Linked DNA regions of Homo sapiens: region 1 is linked to region 2. The links are contacts of gene promoters, found by promoter capture Hi-C in blood cells and fetal thymus (Javierre and others, 2016). All regions are on one chromosome and are shown on one strand. Each heading gives the region's core, a stretch centred on a gene start or on the middle of the fragment in contact. The rest is flanking DNA. Distances are from core to core; before and after follow the strand shown. Region 1 has its middle 110 kb from the start of GHITM. Region 2 holds the start of CDHR1 (cadherin related family member 1).

Region 1 (6,527 bases), core at 3,008-5,507, 160 kb before region 2:
CTCACACCAGTTAGAACGGCGATCATTAAAAAGTGAGGAAACAACAGATGCTGGAGAGGATGTGGAGAAATAGGAATGCTTTTACACTGTTGGTGGGAGTGTAAATTAGTTCAACCATTGTGGAAGACTGTGTGGTAATTCCTCAAGGATCTAGAACCAGAAATATCATTTGACCCAGCACTTCTATTACTGTGTATATACCCAAAGGATTATAAAATGTTCTACTATAAAGACACATGCACAGGTATGTTTATTGCAGCACTATTCACAATAGCAAAGACTTGGAACCAACCCAAGTGCTCATCAATGATAAACTGGATAAAGAAAATGTGCCACATATACACCATGGAATACTATGCAGCCATAAAAAAGGATGAGTTCATGTCCTTTGCAGGGACATGGATGAAGCTGGAAACCATCATTCTCAGCAAACTAACACAAGGAACAGAAAACCAAACACTGCATGTTCTCACTCATAAGTGAGAGTTGAACAGTGATAACACATGGACGCAGAGAGGGGAACATCACACACCGGGGCCTGTCGGGGGGTGGGGGGCTAGGGGAGGGATAGCATTAGAAGAAATACCTTATATAGATGATGGGTTGATGGGTGCAGCAAACCACCATGTCACGTGTATACCTATGTAACAAACTGCACGTTCTGCACATGTATCCCAGAACTTAAAGTATAATAATAAAAAAAAAACTGCTATATGAAATTGCCTTTGCACTATCTGTATAGGATGTATATGAAACATAAACTTGGGTCCCATCCCCAAGATAGCACATTATGTATATGTAAATATGCCAAAAAAAATTAAAAATCCAAAACACTTCTGTCCCCAAGAATTCTGGATAAGAGATGTTCAACCTGTATCTCTAGGGCTGAAAGAGATGACACAATGAAGGAACTAAGAATTTGGAAGACCCTTTTCCCTCCAAGGCTGAGATTAAAGCCTCTTTGGAGAGGCCGTAGCCATCACAGAAGCACACAGGCCTCCAGAGGTAAAGAAATTTGCCAGGCTATGTGGAATAAAGCTGGTCTGCAGGAGCAGCCCATGGGATGGCACAGAAACCCACCAGAGGGTGCGAGCCAGCTGCAGCTGGCCCACAAGGCATGGCCTGCTGGGGTGCTGGTGGACCTGAGCTAGTCAGCAGGCAGAGGCCTCCTGGTAGCAGAAAAACACTCTGGAGAGTGAGGACTCCTGGACCTTCTGCATACTAGTGTGCTGGCAGCCATGCCATAGGAGAAAAAAGACCCCAAGAACCAGGAAAAGCTTTTTTTTTTTTTTTTCTGCCAGACTTGCAGCCCTCTCATGCCCTCTATTGGCAGAGCATAAGATTGCACCAGTTGGCAAAGGGGAAACAAAGGGTGGATCTGGAATTGAATGGCACCAAATTGATAACTGGCCTAAATGTATAGCCTAATTCCTAAGGATGCCACAAAGAAAAAAAAATTCAAAAATATTTAAGTAATTCAAAAACAAGAAGAAAGGGAGAATGAAGGAACAAGACACAAAAGGGATAAATAAAAAATGGTAGACTTAATCTCAAAATTATTATCCTAAGTGAAAGAAGTCAGACCCAAAAGAGTGCCTACTGGATGATTTCACTTATGCAAATTTTCAGAAAATGCTTCTTAATCTATAAAGACAAAAAGCAGAATAGTGGTTGTCTGCGACTAGAGAGGAGGGCAGGATAGGATTGGCTACAAAGTGGCATGGAGGAAATTTGGGGATGATGTAAATGTTCTATATATTGATTATCTTGGTGGTTTCATGGATATATATATTTGTCAGGAAATGCATCATTAAACTGTGTACTCTAAATGGATGCAGTTTATTGTACAACAATTTTACCTCAATACACTTTTTAAAAGACAATAGATAAAATGTATCAATAGGTGCAAGTGGGCTGAGCTGGAAGAGCAGGGGAAGAAGAGCTGAATGGCCATCCGATGGATGTAGTGCCCTTCCTACGCTGTGCTGTGCTTTGCAGCCTGTACATCACCAATGGAACTGAAGTCTTATGAACCCAGTCCCATCTAGAGAGTTACACAGCCTCAAAGATTCAGCTTTCCAGACCCAAGCATCATGGAGCTAATGTGGGTGGTACTTTGCTGTCCAAGGTATCTGCTATATTAATATAGCTACCCATGGTAGAATGAGAAAATCACCTGTTAGGTAGGACCTAGATAGAGACATCTCCTAGACATGCCTGGGCTCAAGCTCAGCCTCCAGGAGTTGGCTTCTGGCTTTGATGGACAGATAACTCCAGGAGCCCAACAGCCCCCTTGGAGGAGCACTGAAACGTGAAGGTACAGTGAACAAAGACAGGATGCTGAAGTTAGAAACCACATGGAGAGTCAGGACTGTACTAAATAACCAAGCATTTACTTCCCTTTCCCCCCTCCTTGGATGCCTTTAAAAATCAAAGCAAATAAATTTGTCCTTATGTAATTCACCAGTATGGTAAAGACCTCTCCCATACCTGTCAACTTTGGCAAACTTGAAATTGGATGATTTGGGAATAGGACAAGAAGGTTTTTCTGAGTCTAATAAAATGGGCTGTGAGCATTTCTTCAGATGAAACAAAAAGGAAAACACTTCAAAACAAAAATGCTCCAAGTAATTGATATATAGTTTACATTGCACATATAAAGCATGGAACTAATTGCTAAGTGGAAAGGGAAGTCTTGAGAACTGACCTTTCCAAACACAGTAATCTGCTTACAATAATACAAATAGAAGGATGTGAACTGAAGCCATAAAAATGTTTCTCTTTTAGTATATAAAATGTTAAAAGATCCATGGCCAAGCACAGTAGCGCACTCCGGTAATCCCAGTTATGTGGGGGGCTTAGGTGGTAGAATCCCTTAGCCCAGGAGTTCAAAGTCAGCCTGGGCAACATAGAAAGGCCCCATCAAAGATCCAAGTGGGCACCATTTCCTTTGAAGTCATCATTGTGGAAAACCATGCATTTATTCCCAAGCTTGTTCAGAAATTATATTTCGGAATTGAATTATTTTACCATATCTTAAATATTCTTTGTATCCACAGGGCTTCTTTATGCTGCAATCTGAACACAGTTATTCTGGAACAAACAACATAAAGTATAACATAATTGGTTAATATACTGGACTCTACAGATAATCAATAAATGTTGAAGTTCTTTGTCTTTCCTCACTAGTGATGAACTTTCTTATTCAGATTTCATTTTTGGCAATACAGAGAAGTCACTTGGAATAAAAATTACTCATTTGTTTACTCTTTATTGTACCCACTATGTTCCAGACACTGGTCTAGATCTGCACAGGGAAGATTGTCTTGATGCTTTAGAGTGAGTTTCAGAATCTGCCCTGGCAATGTGATTCAGCAAGTTACTGAAACTTCTGGGTCTGTGTTTTCTTCTGCAATAAAGGAGTAATAATAACAATGACATAAAAATGGTCCCTTTGGGTGGCTGTGTATTTATTCCGGAATGAAAGGTGTTATGGACTGAATTGTGTTTCCCAAAAACTGTTGAAGCCCTAACAATTTTGACAGTATTGGAGCTAAGGCCTTTAAAGAGGTTATTAAGGTAAAATGAGGTCATTAGGTCCTTGACTTGCATTAGCCATCTGCAAGTCAAGGAGAGGGGCCTCAGAAAGAACCAACCCTGCCAACATCTTGATGTTGGCTTTCACTTTCCAGAACCATGAGAAAATTAATTTCCATTGTTAAAGTCACCCAGTCTGTGATGCTTTGTGATGGCAGCCCTAGAAACCTAATACAAAGGGAATATGGATTTATTCCAGTCCTGTATGCTCCAGATAAGGCCATCCTTCCCGGCCTCCTCATTACCATTGGCAGAAGGGAAGAGGAAATGCCCAAGTATATAATAACCCTGGCTGGATTCCACCACCTCTCTCTTCGTTCCCCATTCTCTGACATTCACAGCTTTGCCAAATAGCTTACATTGATTCCAGCAAGGCTAATTCCTCCTTGCTCTCTACCTGATCATCACAAGAAGACCAAGACTCTCAGACTCCTGGTCACTCAGATCCTCTCCTTCTCAAATCCCTACTTTTACTCCAACTCCTAAAGACCTTTTCCTCTGTAACCTATAAAATCACAAGGCATTATCAACAAAATCTCTATTTCAATAATGTTTTTTGAAGAGTTCCCTTTGTTTTTCCGCTTTACAGAAACTGTTTTCCCTGAGAATACTGCTTCCCCTGCACTCTTCTCCAGGGCTGGTGATTTTCTCAAGCACATGCTTCCTATCACTGGGCCTGGTGACGGGGTAGGGTATTCTGCTTGTTCTTTGTAGCAGATCCTAAAACAATTTCCCTTTCTCTTCCCTAAACACCCAGCCTTGAAGCCTGCACCATTAGACAATGTATCATTTCCTCCTATTGAAGTCTTCAATGGACCTCGGCATCCCTAGGTTTTGTCTCCCCATTCCTTGTCACTCTCTCTAACGTGACTCACCATAATTCCTAGTGATTTTGAAATTCTTGGAAGTAAGACTCCCTGACCTCTCATTTTCTTGACATTCTCTTCTCCAAAAAATTTATCCTCTACTGTATATCTGCCATGACTCTCAGTCATATTCTAGATTGTCTTATGCTTTATCCATACTTGTCCTTTCTCTCTAAGTTCAGTTTGAAGACTTACACTCTGTTCATCATTTCTATATTTCATTCACTCATCCAATGAAATGAATGTTGTTCCAGGCACTGTTCAAGATGTTGGTGATATATGACTGATCCAAATGGGCAAAAATCTATACCCTTCTTGAACTTACATAGGATTGAGGGAGATGATAAACCAAATGTATACCATTTAATTTGTAATAAGTGCTACAAAAAAATAAAGCAAGAAAGAAGGTTAGGCAGTATTGAAGAGGTCCACTTATTTAAAGGGTGGCCAGGGAAATACACACACATACACACACAAAATATTTGAGCTAAGACCTGAATGCTGCAGGACTGAGACAGGAAGTCATCTGGAAGAAGACTGTTCCCAAAAGAGCAAATAGTAAATGCAAAGGACATGAGATGGGAGCTTATCTGGGTGTTCAAGAAACAATGAGTAGACCAGTGTGGTCAAAAAGGACCATGAGGGAGAAGGAGGAAATAAGGGTAGAAACATGGGTAGGGGATGGGAAAGCAGATCTTGTAGGGCAACCTAATCAGCCACGGTAAGGACTTTTGCTGTTACTCAGATGTGTCACCATTGAGACTTTTGAACAGAGGAGTGGTGTGATCTTCCCAATGTATTCCACAATACTTCAATTCTCAGAAACTCTTAACCTTACCAGGACCTTCAATCCACTGATCCAAACTCATTGTCCATCCTATAATCACTCCCTTAGAAATTCCCTCAACTTCTTTGCCTCTCACTCTGCAGTTTTCATCTGGAAAAAAAATAATCCCTAGTTAAATCTAACTTTGTGCCTACTCTGTACCTGCACTCCCACAGTTAACTGCAGCTGGAAACAAGCACCCAAACATACTGACTTAAATTCACAGTTACTAAACCAAGCTTTTAGTGTGCCCTGGCAATTCTGCTACATTCCTTTACCTCATTATCCCATAAGACTATTTCACAGCCTCTCTTCTCTTGACAAACCCCTCTCACCTCCTCCCCACCCTATCAGTTTATTTCCATTCCCTCACAAAACACAAACAAAAGAAAACTTCCATACCCTTCCAGTGCCGTGTTTACCAGCCTACCCCCATCTGTACACATACATCTCTGCCTTCCCTCCTGCTACTAAGGGAAGGTTGTCCTCACTCATTTCTCGGGCCTATGCTTCTGCTTAGACAATGGATCTTGTACCCTTTTACCCACTCAAGGACCTCCCTCAAGCCATTGTTCCCTCTCTATCCTGAATCACCAATTTTTCTCCTTTCTACTGGCTAATTCCTATCAACGTACATAATTTTAATCATTTCATCTTTAACTATATATATTTTTTATCCTACATCTCCTTCTACCAAATTCCATTTCTCTGTCCACTTTAAAGCTTGTCTATACTCATTGTTATGGGTTCAATTGTGTCCCACCAAAACTTTTATGTTGAAGTTTAACCCTCACCACCTCAGAATATGACCTTATTTGGAGATAGGGTCATTGCGGATGTAATTAGTTAAGACGAGGTCACGTGGGAGTAGAGTGGGCCCCTAATCAGAGATGACTAGTGTCCTTATAGAACACAGAGACACACAAGTGAAGATGAAGGCAGAGATCAGGCTGATGCAACAAAAGCCAAGGAACACCAAAGATTCCCAGCAAACCCCAGAAGCTAGGAGACAGGCATGGAGAGAGTCTCCCTCAAAGCCTCCAGAAAGAGCCAACCCTGATGACACTTTGATCATGGAGTTCTAGCCTCCAGAAATATGAGACACATTTCTGTTTTTTAAGTCACCTAGTTTGTGGAACTCTGTTTATGGCAGCCTTAACGAACTAATACAATGGCAATCTGATTTTCTCCTCCTGTCTCTTCTCAACCTACTCCAGTCAGGTTTTGCCTCCAGCATT
Region 2 (5,097 bases), core at 586-3,085:
GAGGTTGCAGTGAGCTGAGATCCGCCATTGCACTCCAGCCTGGGTGACCGAGTGAGACTCCAGCTCAAAAAAAAAAAGAGTTTGAACCTTCTTTGGAGCCAACCCAAACTGTATGTGAATCCAAGCTCTGCACCTCAGAGAGAATAAGTCACTTGCTTGGTCGTACACAGCCAATGAGGAAATCTCCCTCCTCTGCAAAGCAGAGAAAATCACATTGGGAGAGCAGTGCAGGTCAAATAAGATAATATGGGCAAATATACATAAGCACACATACAGCACATGGCATGTAGGCTACTCCTTCCCCTTCCCTCTCCAGTGCATGGCTGTTGACTGAGGGAACTGAGGAGAGAGAAATCAACGGCCCTAGATTGGTGAGGAGCAGGGCTAACAGGACCCAGGGAGAGCTGGCTTTTCTCGGCCCACCAAGACATCTACTCCAGGAAACCTTGGCTCTGCCTCTGGCTCCTGGGAAATCCACGGCAAGACTCAGTCTCCACATCCCTATATGGGACTTGCAGAATACTTGCCTTAGCTTTGTCCCAGCACTTTGGGAGGCAGATTCAGAACATCTGTGCAATTTAAAGTGTGTCTTTTCAGCAAAAGAGCCAAGCCTAAGGAGACTCAACAAGGGTTTCGGCCAATTAGGCCTGAAAACTGCTGCACATTCTAAAACCATTGATTCATCTTCCTTCTTCTCTGCAAATCCCTGACCCTTGCTCACAGTAGATCATGTAGGGCTAGACCAAGGGATGGGGGGTGCTCTGTTCCCTCAAAGGCCCCTGGCAGGGGGAGGGGGGGAATGCTGAGTCCTCAGCTGTGGAGACCTCTCCCAGGAGCACACAGAGGAGGGATCTCCTCTATCTGAGAACACATCCACCCAAGGGCATCCTGGGAAGTGGCCTGGCTTGGGCTTGAAGTGACCTGTACCCCCATAAATGGCCCAACCAGGAAAAGGAAAACAGGCTGCATTTCCAAGCACCCTCCAGTGTCAGAGCAGGAGAACGAGGAAGCCCAAGGAGCTTTACCAGCAGCCAAAAAGGTTCCTGGGCTTACCTGTGTCTTCAAGTTATCAGCATCCAGGACCCCAATAGCAGTGCCTTGCTTTGTGTAAATACCCTCTAGGAATGAGATCTCGTGCCTCTCGGGCAGTTCAGATCTATCTTGGCCAGCTCTGTGCAAGTCTGTCCTAAGATGGGGCTTAACTCTGCCTTCAGGCCCTTCACTCTTCCTTGGAAGGTTTGAAGAGTGGGTCAGCTGCCCCTTCATGGTCCCAGACTGGGCACTGACTGGGAATGGGGAGCAGAACTGCCTCTCACCCTGGTGGACACCTGAGGGTCCTCCCTGCTGCCCACCACACAGATCAGACCCTTTGGGAGAGGTGGTCCAGCCTGGGGAACAGGGCAGGAATGGGTTGAGATCACAGAGAGGGGGTCCTGATAACCCCTTACCATCTGCTGCCCATCCATCACCCTTTCTCTTTGCCTTTGGTCTCACGCGGCTTATAGAACCTGCTTAGACTGCTAAGGCAAGGCCCTCTCGGCCGCTCCACTAACTTTTCTTCTGGAATGCTTAGCTCAGAGAAGACAGCTAAGCCCCTGAAAGTCACAGAGGAAGTTGATGAGAAAAGAAAACTGCGAAGCCCAAGCCCCACCAGGACTTAAGTACCCTGGGAAAGCCTCAGGACAACTTGGGGGAAAGACACTCCTGTCCCCCATGGTGTCCTCCTGTCCAGGACTGGGGGCCGCCGGCAAAGGGGGCGTGGCGGGCGGGGAGTCCTCTTGTCACGCCCTCCTGCCCCCGCCCGCGGCTGGGAGCCTGTCGCTCCGCTCTGCGCCGCTAATTGGTCTCGTCAGGCGGCCGGCAGGAGCAGATCCGAGCCGTGTCATCCTCTTAGCGCCCTCACGCCACCCGCCGCTCCCGCCCCGTGCCCCCTCCCGCCGCGGCTGCAGTCGCCGCTACCCCCATTGTGGTCTCTGCCCTCCCCGCGGGCCCAGGGCATGCTCCGTGCCCCTGCGCCCGGTCTCGGCGGCGGCAGGCGACACTCCGCGCCGGCGGAGACATGAGGCGCTGCCGGTGGGCCGCCCTGGCCCTGGGGCTGCTGCGCCTCTGCTTGGGTGAGTGGCCGCTGGGCCGCGCTGGCCGCGTGGATGGCGAGGGAGATGGGCGCTGGCGTCACCCAGGTGGCCAGAGGGACATGGTCCTGGACCACTTCCAGAGTGGGACTCGGGCTGGTGGACGGGAGCGGAGAAGTCCTTCCATCTTCCTGGCCCATTCGGTAGTGGGGAGTGGGGTAGCGGAGTAGTGGGGAGCTCCGGGGCGCTTCTCCAGAGCTGGCATCCTAGGGCCCCAGGGTTTGGCGCCCGGACCCCCGCTGCTCTCCGCTTGCTGGGAACCAGAGCTGTAGGCTTGGTGGCAGCTCCGATGCTGCGTGGGGCAGGAGATAGTGCCCTGACTCGCGGCTTGACCTTGGCTGGGCTGGGGCACTGCCCCTCTCCGAGCGCGGGTGCAATCTGCCCATTGATGAAGGAGGGGTTGGATTGCTACCTGGGTTCTAAGCGCCCACATGCTACGTGTCCCTGACAAGCCCGAGCCCACCGGGGGCGGAGTGGGGGTCAGGGGCATCCTCTGGGCGGCGCCCCAGTGGGGTCCCTCGGTGCACTTGGGTTGGGGAGGCGGAGCGCCCTCCTGCCCAGTAGCTGGGCCTGACGCGGGACCGCGCTGGTGCGAAGCTCCCTCCTGGTGTCTGGGTGTCCTTTGCCTGGGTGTCCGTCTGTTCTGTGTTCTTTTTCCAGCTCAGGCCAACTTCGCCCCGCACTTCTTCGACAACGGGGTCGGCAGCACCAACGGAAACATGGCTCTGTTCAGCCTCCCAGAGGACACCCCTGTAGGTGAGTAGCCCTGGCACCTGCTCCCGATAGGTCTCCCTGAGGGGTGCAGGCAGACTTAGAACACAAAGTGCCCCAGGCACCACCCAAGTTGCTGCGCGCGCCCGGGGGCTCCTTGTTTGCTCTCCGAATTCCCCTGGGCAATGGCAGGAAAGAAGGTCATTGCTGCCATGGCGACTTAAGTCTGGCCAGTCCTGGAGACCAGGGCTCCCCCCCACAGACAGGGTCGCCCCGCGAGGCAGGCAGCTACAGCTGCCCCTTATGGCTGTGTGACCTTGAACAAATGTATTTACCTCCCTGAGCCCCAGGTCTCTAGGCTTTAAAACGGCCTAAGAACATCCAACTTGCTGAGATATGCAGAGAGAGGGGAGGAGAAAGGGGAGATTTCACACTCCTTCTCCCTCACTTTGTGGGTAGTGGGAACCCGGGGAAAAGGGAGAGCAGAGCAAAGTAGGCACCTGGCTCAGAAATCCCTGCAGAACCAGGTCCAGGCATCGGGGACAGTGGTGCACTGTGGGTCACCCCTCCTGCCTTAATGGCTGCTCCCATTTCCCCTTCCCTGTACCCAGGAGCCCCTCAATCTTGGATCCTGAGAGAGGAGTTATTACCAGGCTGAGCAGAACATAGGCACTACAGTTAGGCACGGCAGACCTGCACCTGCTCTGTAACCCGTGTTATAGATTACAATCTGGAAAGTGGCTGATCATCACAACCACCCGCTGTGAAGAATAAACATACAAAGAGGGAAGCAGCCAGCAGGGGTGAGGCCAGCAATGAGCACCAAGTTCAGGGCAGTACCTTTGGCACTGAGTTGAATAGTCACTTTATAAACAGCTGAATCGTTGGTCCTGAGCATCTGCCACTTTTAGGAAAAGTTGGGTCTCAGATTCTATGTCTCTCCACTGTGTTTCCTTCCAGGCTCTCACGTATACACCCTGAATGGGACAGACCCTGAGGGAGACCCCATCTCCTACCACATCAGCTTTGACCCCAGCACTAGAAGCGTCTTTTCTGTTGACCCCACTTTTGGAAACATCACCCTGGTTGAAGAGCTGGACAGAGAGGTATGGGGAGGTGTGGGGAGTGCTGCGGGGCCACTGCCTGTAGACAGACCTCGGTGGGCTGAAGTTCCCCTGGAGCACATTGGTTAGAACCTCTCCACAGAGTAGGGGATGAGGGGGCACACCCCAGGCACATCCACTCTGTGAGATCTCTGGGCCACTTCCCATCAGCAGAGTGGGCTTTACTTTCATGCTCCTCCTTCACACAGAGCGAAGAGTGGGCTCCTTTAACGAGCACCTGCCAGCCCTGCTAATCTTTTAAGCATGTTCCATTAAAAATAAATCCGTTTGCACTTTGAGGTTTCTGAAAGAAACCTCACAAAGTGATTTTTCAAGCCTGTCCTGGGAGAGGCACAGGAACTCAGAGCAGGTCAAGGCTGGAAAGGGTGGTTGGCAGTGAGTCTGAGTTTGGCAGAGCTCCTCCACTCTACACACTTGAGAACTTGCAGGCAACAGGGCATGGGCTTTTTCAGACCGCATAGCAGCCTGGTGTGTGGCTAACTGGACCTCAGCTGTGGGGATGCTGCCAGCTCGTGACAGCCTCCACTAGCTGCAGGACAGGGTAGAGAAAGGAAAGGGAGGTCTCAGGGACTGCTGTGGGGACACAGCAGTGGAGCCTGACTGTGCTGCCAGTACCCCACTCCCTGGCACCCGCGGGATCTGGCAACATCCGATACCCTTCCCCATTGAGGTCTCACCATATCCTGGGAGCACTGAGACACCATGGATGTGAGCCTCTGCAGAGCCCTGGAATGTGGAGAGGTGTGGAGAGAAAAGGGGAGAAAAGGGAAAAGAAAGAGGAAAAGTCTTTATGGGACCTTGAGCACACTAAGGTCGACATCTCGCCTCACTGTGGCAGGAGAGTATTTTCTGTTGGAGCCCCAACAGACCCTCTGGGTCTCTGAGTTTATAAGAACCCCGGACACAAAAGTCCCAAAATAAGGTCTCAAGCATGGGGGGAGGCAGCTTTCTACTCTGCCAGGCATGCTGTCACCACCACTTACCCTGCTCCAGGGATCTATTGGCACGCCCAGACCTCCTCTGATGGGTGCGTGGGGCAGGGAGAGCTCCATCCAGCCACAGGGGTCCTATGGCGTGTCAGACTCCTGGACACTCACTCAGTCCCTGTGCTTCACAGAGGGAAGATGAGA

Evidence for each region. Contacts are between HindIII fragments. The CHiCAGO score rates a contact against its expected background, and 5 or more counts as called.
Region 1: a fragment that was not itself captured here is called in contact with the fragment with the promoter of CDHR1 in region 2 in 1 of 17 cell types (neutrophils); the score reaches 5.7 in neutrophils.

What each region holds. Positions count from the first base shown.
Region 1 is chr10:84,025,664-84,032,190 of GRCh38, forward strand. No RefSeq gene overlaps it. Among named protein-coding and RNA genes, the nearest start is that of GHITM, 110 kb to the right of the region's middle. The HindIII fragment of the contact is 2,537 bases long and covers 2,990-5,526 here.
Region 2 is chr10:84,192,702-84,197,798 of GRCh38, forward strand. CDHR1 (cadherin related family member 1) reads left to right here and starts at 1,836. Exons shown (of 17, transcript NM_033100.4): 1 at 1,836-2,114; 2 at 2,793-2,888; 3 at 3,804-3,949; 4 at 5,085-5,097. The coding sequence starts at 2,060. RefSeq lists silencers at 1,732-1,861, 1,932-2,051. The HindIII fragment of the contact is 5,936 bases long and covers 1-5,097 here.